Linked DNA regions of Homo sapiens: region 2 is linked to region 1. The links are contacts of gene promoters, found by promoter capture Hi-C in human tissues and cell types (Jung and others, 2019). All regions are on one chromosome and are shown on one strand. Each heading gives the region's core, a stretch centred on a gene start or on the middle of the fragment in contact. The rest is flanking DNA. Distances are from core to core; before and after follow the strand shown. Region 1 holds the start of MICALL2 (MICAL like 2). Region 2 has its middle 9.1 kb from the start of ZFAND2A.

Region 1 (3,113 bases), core at 295-2,794:
GCCCTCTCCTTCAAAGCTCAGCGTCAGGCTTTCCATGTGGAAGCACGCACCTTGTGCCCAGCATCTTCTGCCTGCAAGGGCAACAGAGGCACGTTCCTGGCGAGGGAGAGCGGCTGCTGCCCAAACGCCAAATGGAAGCCCCTGGTGGCTCCACGAATGCATGTCACAACCTCAGAGCAGGGGCCGAGGCTGTTGCTCAAGACCCCAGCTTCCTGCAGAGAGTGGGACTGGCAGGACAGTGTCCAGGGGCACAGGGGAGGAGCCCCGGATCTGCGCAACGGGCTGGGGCTGTGTGACCTGAGCAAGGACCCCTCCTCTTAGCCTCGGTTCTCTGGTCTGCACAGCTGCGGCCTGACAGAGGCCCCAGGTGCTGCCTGTGGCTCCTCCCAACCCCGAGACCTTCCCACCAAAAACACACTCAGGAGAACGCTTTGCCCAGAAGGTGCCTGGGCTGCAGGTGGCCGTTGAGGGCCCCCCTTCCTGAGCGTCTGGCCCCCAGCCCCGACACACAGATCTCTGTCCCAGCAAGCCTGGTCCCAGTCATTTAGCCAAAGAGCGTTTGCTGAGTGAATAAACAATGGAGCAGGTCCAGGCTCGGGCCAAGATTCAGCAACGGGCAGGGCCAGCTGCCCAGCTACACACGCCAAGACCCTCCTGGGGAGAGACAGCCTAGTCCTCAACCCCTGCCACCTCCTGCTGCTCCCAGAGATGGGGGCTGTTCTCCATCTCGGGCCCTATCACCCGGGGCCTCAGAGGCCCGGCTGGCAGCAGCACCTGGGGTCTGGGGGCTTCCTGCCCTGCACTGGCCGCTCCCCCACAGTGGCCCTGGCCACATCCCCCCAGGGGCCTGAACAGGCTGGGGGAGGGTCAGTGCCCATACGAGGGCTATCCAGGGACCCCATCTGGTGGCCAGGCCCCTGGGCAGTGAGAGCCTCGGAGGGCCCAAAGAGGCAGCTCTGCTGGCCTTTCCCAGGGACACAGAGGGGGACTGGACTGAAGCCAGGGCCCAGGAGCCGCCCTGAGTCACGTCTGACTCAGCCGGCGGGCGGGGGATGCCATGGCTCTGGCCCAGCTGCATTCGGTGTCCGGGCACACTGAGGCCACTGAGGACAGCCTCGGGGGGCTGCACGGTGGGCTGTGCCTGCCCAGTCCCACGCCTCGGCTCCCCATCCCCCAGCCGCCCGGGCCTCAGTTTCCCCGCCCGTGTCAGCGCGCAGCCGAACAGCAGAAGAATCAAAGGGCGCCAGGCAGGACTTACATGAGGTCGGGCCGGTGGCGGTGCAGGATGGCGCAGAAAGCCAGGCCGTCGCGGAACGACGTGGTCATGTTGCAGATATTCACGTCGCGGTAGCCCTCGCACTGCTGCCGGCACCACTGTTGCAGCGCCCTGATGGCCGCCATGTGGGCGGCGCGCCCGCCGCGCGGCGGAACCGCCCTCCGACACCTTCCCGCGGCTGTGCCGCGACCGCCCGGCCGGCGGGACAGACGCTGGGACCGCTACGGAACCGCCAGACCCACGGCGCCCAGCCCCAGCTGAGCCGGACTGAGGGCGACGAGTGCCGGGTCCCTAAGAGAAGCCGAGCCCGGCCCCGCCCCCGCCGGCCCCGCCTCCTTGTAGGCCCCGCCCCCAGCCGCCAAGTCCTGCCTCCGGATAGGCCCCGTCCTCACACCTCCCAGCCCCGGCATAGGCTCCCGCCCAGGCAGGCCCCACCTCCCGACAGGCCCCGCCCCCAGCCGCCGGGTCCTGCCTCCTGATAGGCCCCGTTCCCACGCCTCCTGGCCCCGGCACAGGCTCCCGCTCCAGGCAGGCCCCGACTCCGGACAGGCCCCGCCCCCAGCCTCCAGGTTTTGCCTCCCGAGAGGCCCCGCCCCACGCCGCCCGGCCCCAGTACGGGCTCGCGCCCTAGGCACGTCCCGCCTCCTGGTAAGTCCCGCCCCCACGCTGTCAGGTCCCGCCCGACAGGCCCCGCCCCACGCCGCCTGGCCCCTCCCCAGGCCCCGCCCCGCCGCTGAGGGCCGAGACCCCCAACCGGTGAAGGGGCGCGGTCTGCTTGGGGGTCCTGCCATTCTGGACCCCTGCGGAGACCTGGAATTTTCTTTTTCGCCGCCCCACCTCCCACCACCATCTCACCCCACCGCCATGGAGAAGAGGCAGGAAAGGCCGTTGACAAACGGGGACACTGAGGCTCGAACACCCTGCCCTGTCTAGGGCCTCAGCCCTCGGCAGCCCGGCCTCCCGGGGAGCAGGAGGCGCCTTGTGTTTCAGGGTTTCAAAGGACGTCCGCATCTGGTTTCTCTTTCCAGGCCGCTACATGCCAGCGGGGGTTCCAGGCAAGGCAGAGGTGAGGCCTGGGCATTGCCAGAGGAGAAACTGAGGCCAGGAAGGGGGCCGTGGAGCCGGAGTTGCACAGCTGGCCTGTGCTTTTCTTCTGGGGGCCTGTGGGCAGGATCTGTTCCTGGGGCAGGAGATTCCTCAGGCTGACTTGCAGGGTAGTTCCAATTTTCCACTTTGAGCTGTGACAGAAGAAATAAGGAAAGTCCCTCTGCTGGGGCCCTAAATTATCCCAGACTGGCCCCTGGCCCCGTTATCCTTGGGGAACCTTGTCTGTGGCCACGGGGGCTGGACGAGGGCGGAATCACTGACACCAGCCATGTGAGGGGGGCCTACCCTCCTGGCTGTGGGGCCAGGGCTTGTCTGGGCAGGGCCTGCAGGAAGGAAGGTGTTTTCCCGCAGTAGCCCCTGGCAGGGAGTCAGGGCAGCTTCTCTGTGCCCCTTGGGAGGAGGAGAAACTGAGGTCTTCCAACCCCAGCCAATGGTGCTGTTCCAGATCTTTTCTGAGGCTGGTCCCTGGTGAGACACCGTAGTGTTCATGGCCAGCTGCCTAAGTGTCAGTGAGGCCTGTGTGTAGGTGGTGAGCTCCCCGTCACCAGGGGCATGCAAGCAGCTGCTAGGCAGGGAGCCCTTGTGGCCTGGGAATGTGGCTGGCCCTAACCGCTGCTCCGCCACAGTCCCTGACCTGCGGATGTCAGGGGATATCGTGCCAGCACAGCCGGAGCCGGTCCTGGCACCGGGTTTTCTTGACTCCCAGGGCAACGGTTAGGAGAACCGGAAG
Region 2 (2,947 bases), core at 282-2,781, 310 kb before region 1:
TGTAGGGCATAGCCTGTGGCTCCCAGGCTACAAATGCGTGCAGAGTGCTACTGCGCTGAATGCTGTAGGCCACTGCGGCACGGCGCTGCGTGTTTGTGCTTCCAAACCTAGGCGTGGTGCGGTCCAGCTTGCTGGGAGGATTCCATCCCAGTGTTCTGTGGGACTGCAGGGTGACTAGCTTGTTCTTAAGTTTTTTTTTTTTTTTTTGAGATGGAGTCTTGCTCTATCACCCAGGCTGGAGTGCAATGGCACGATCTCTGCTCACTGCAACCTCTGCCTCCCGGGTTCAAGCGATCCTCTTGCCTCAGCCTCCCAAGTAGCTGGGATTACAGGCATGCACCACCACGCCCGGCTAATTTTTGTATTTTTAGTAGGGACAGGGTTTCATCATGTTGGCCAGGCTGGTCTCAAACTCCTCCAAATACCACAATGTACCCCATCAATATGTACAATTATGTCAATTAAAATAAAAGCAAAAAAGTTTGTCAGATTAAAAAAAAAAGATATAGTGAAAATACAGTATGTTCTGCGATCACCAACATATACACGGTCCGTCATCGACAGAAACATCGTTCCCCTGACTGCAGGTCTGACCACCTTTTTGCAGAACGCCAACAGAATACAAACCCTTCCCGTTACATTTTTAGATGGTGAAAGCAGAAAAAAAAAAGGCAGTGGCTTGTGTTTTTGTGAACTGTCTCAGCGGGACATCTGGTGGGCACAGCTGGATGGCCAGGGCAGTTCAGAACAGGACAGAACTTGGGGGAATTTTGTTTCACCTTATTCCCTGACACCCCCTAAGTTCCCAGGAAATCACTGCACTCTTGATGAGCAGAGCGGCTGTCAGTATAAATCTAACACCAGTATTTACGTTACCCGTGTTCATCACTTCACAAAATCAGACGGTGGTGGAAAGTGTCAGGCCACGAAGGCCGCATCTGTCATCTGAGCCACAAAGGACTGTGCACCTCACTACCCCCCTTCCCTCCCGTTTTGGCTTTCTGCTCTTCAAACCTATAAAACCCAGTCTCCTGTAATCTCTGGCACTTGTGGAAGCCCTAGTTCCTGCCATTGTAGTTTTAAGTCACTTCTGGAAGTTTCCACTGCTTCATCACTGGACAGAGCCATCTTCAACAGGTGGCATTTTGCAACTTTCTTGTTGGTGCTGAAATAGATCCAGGTGCAAAGCAGCTCTCGGGCTTGCTGGCTGCTGACAACTGTGCCTTTTTTTTTTTTTTTTTTGAGATTCAGTCTTGCTCTGTTGCCCAGGCTGGAGTGCAGTGGCACAATCTGGGCTCACTGCAACCTCCGCCTCCCAGGTTCAAGTGATTCTCCTGCCTCAGCCTCCTGAGTAGCTAGGATTACAAGCGTGTACCACCACCACACCTGGCTAATTTTTGTTTTAGTAGACATGGGGTTTCACCATGTTGACCAGGCTGGTCTCAAACTCCTGACCTCAGGTGATCCGCCTGCCTCCGCCTCCCAAAGTGCTGAGATTACAAGCGTGAGCCACTGCGCCTGGCTGAACTGTGCCTGTTTTAAGAAGTTGACCGTGGCAGGGACAAGTGGTCCAGGAAGACACACCTTCTCTCACACAGTGTCCCAGCCCCTTGGAGGTCAGGAACGGGCACGCAGCTGTGCCCTCAAACAATGCGAGTAGCACCTGTGGCCGCCGCTGGACAAGAACCCTCGGCCAGGCAGGTGGATGTCCTTCCCCCTTCTTGGCCAGATAGTCACATCGTTACAGAGGTGACATGGTGAAGAGCGCAAGTGAGCTGTCTGGTGTTTGCTGGTTTTGAACTCCTGACCTTAGGTGATCCACCCACCTTGCCCTCCCAAAGTGCTGAGATTACAGGTGTGAGCCACTACGCCCGGCCTAGTTTGTGTATTTCAGTGGGGAAGTTTCAAGGTTTCAGGCTAACCATCTTCACTAAAATATAAAAGATTAGCCGGGCATGGCAGTTTGGTGCCTGTAATCCCAGCTACTCGGGAGGCTGAGGCAGGAGAATTGCTAGAACCTGGAAGGCAGAGGTGGCAGTGAGCTGAGATTGTGCCACTGCACTCCAGCCTGGGCAATAGAGCAAGACTTCATCCCTTTTAAAAAAAAAAAAGCAAAGCCAGCCAGCATTGAAGCTGGGGATTCCCGTGAAGATGGCCCGGAGGTGCTGCTGGGCCATTAGAAGTATGGGGAGTACCTGAAGGCGGAAGTTACCTAGAGTGGAAATAACCCACACGGCAGTGCAAACGGGAAGGACCTCATCACTTTCCACCAAAAAGAACAAAGAACAGCTCTTTTCAGGTTTGTCTTGATGATGCAGGAATGTTGATCATGTCAGAGGATCTTGGAGGGCAGAAAAGGTGTTTCAGAAACCAGCTGTATGATGCTGCTGCTGCCGAAAGGTTGTGCTGGAGCGAGCTGCTTCTGTAACTTGGGGTCCCAGTCCTGTGTCCTTCATCCATCCTGACGAAGTCGCACCACTGGAGCATCGCGTCACACTGTGCAGTTACACACAGCAACCTTTCCGTGTTCACCAACCAAGAGCTGCAGCACCCCACACAGACGAAATTGCGTTCACATGAGCCGGGTGAACCAGTACCCGAGTCGCTGGGCCAGCCCGCCAGGAGCCAGGGTGAGGAAATCTCCCAACGGCCTGGATTCAGAGACTGTCATGGGTGAGCACCTACAGAGAGGGTGGATGGATCAGCTCAGCCTCCATGTGCTGACCGCAAGAACCCACACAGCTTCCTGCAGGTAAGCAACTACCACTGGCCTGGCCCAGGGATGGACGCCAGACACCACCAGGTGCAACAGTTGAGGCAAATACAGATGCTTCTCGATTTGACAAACATTAGCATTACGAGTTGAATCATGTCCCCACAAGACATGCTGGAGCCCTAGACTCGGGACCTCAGAGTGTGACCTTCTGTGGACACAGGGTCTTTTCAG

The links. Contacts are between HindIII fragments. The study calls those that stand out against the background at their distance.
Region 2: a fragment that was not itself captured here is called in contact with the fragment with the promoter of MICALL2 in region 1 in 1 of the 25 tissues and cell types used here (lymphoblastoid cells).

Annotation. Positions count from the first base shown.
Region 1 is chr7:1,457,926-1,461,038 of GRCh38, forward strand. It overlaps MICALL2 (MICAL like 2), which reads right to left and starts at 1,545. Exons shown (of 17, transcript NM_182924.4): 1 at 1,259-1,545. The coding sequence starts at 1,401. MICALL2-DT (MICALL2 divergent transcript) reads left to right here and starts at 1,994. Exons shown (of 2, transcript XR_001745046.2): 1 at 1,994-2,342. RefSeq lists enhancers at 1-221, 222-944, 2,368-2,919, 2,920-3,113, 3,008-3,113 and a silencer at 1,318-2,037. The HindIII fragment of the contact is 47,250 bases long and covers 1-3,113 here.
Region 2 is chr7:1,149,664-1,152,610 of GRCh38, forward strand. It overlaps a transcript of ZFAND2A not described here. Among named protein-coding and RNA genes, the nearest start is that of ZFAND2A, 9.1 kb to the right of the region's middle. The HindIII fragment of the contact is 5,994 bases long and covers 1-2,947 here.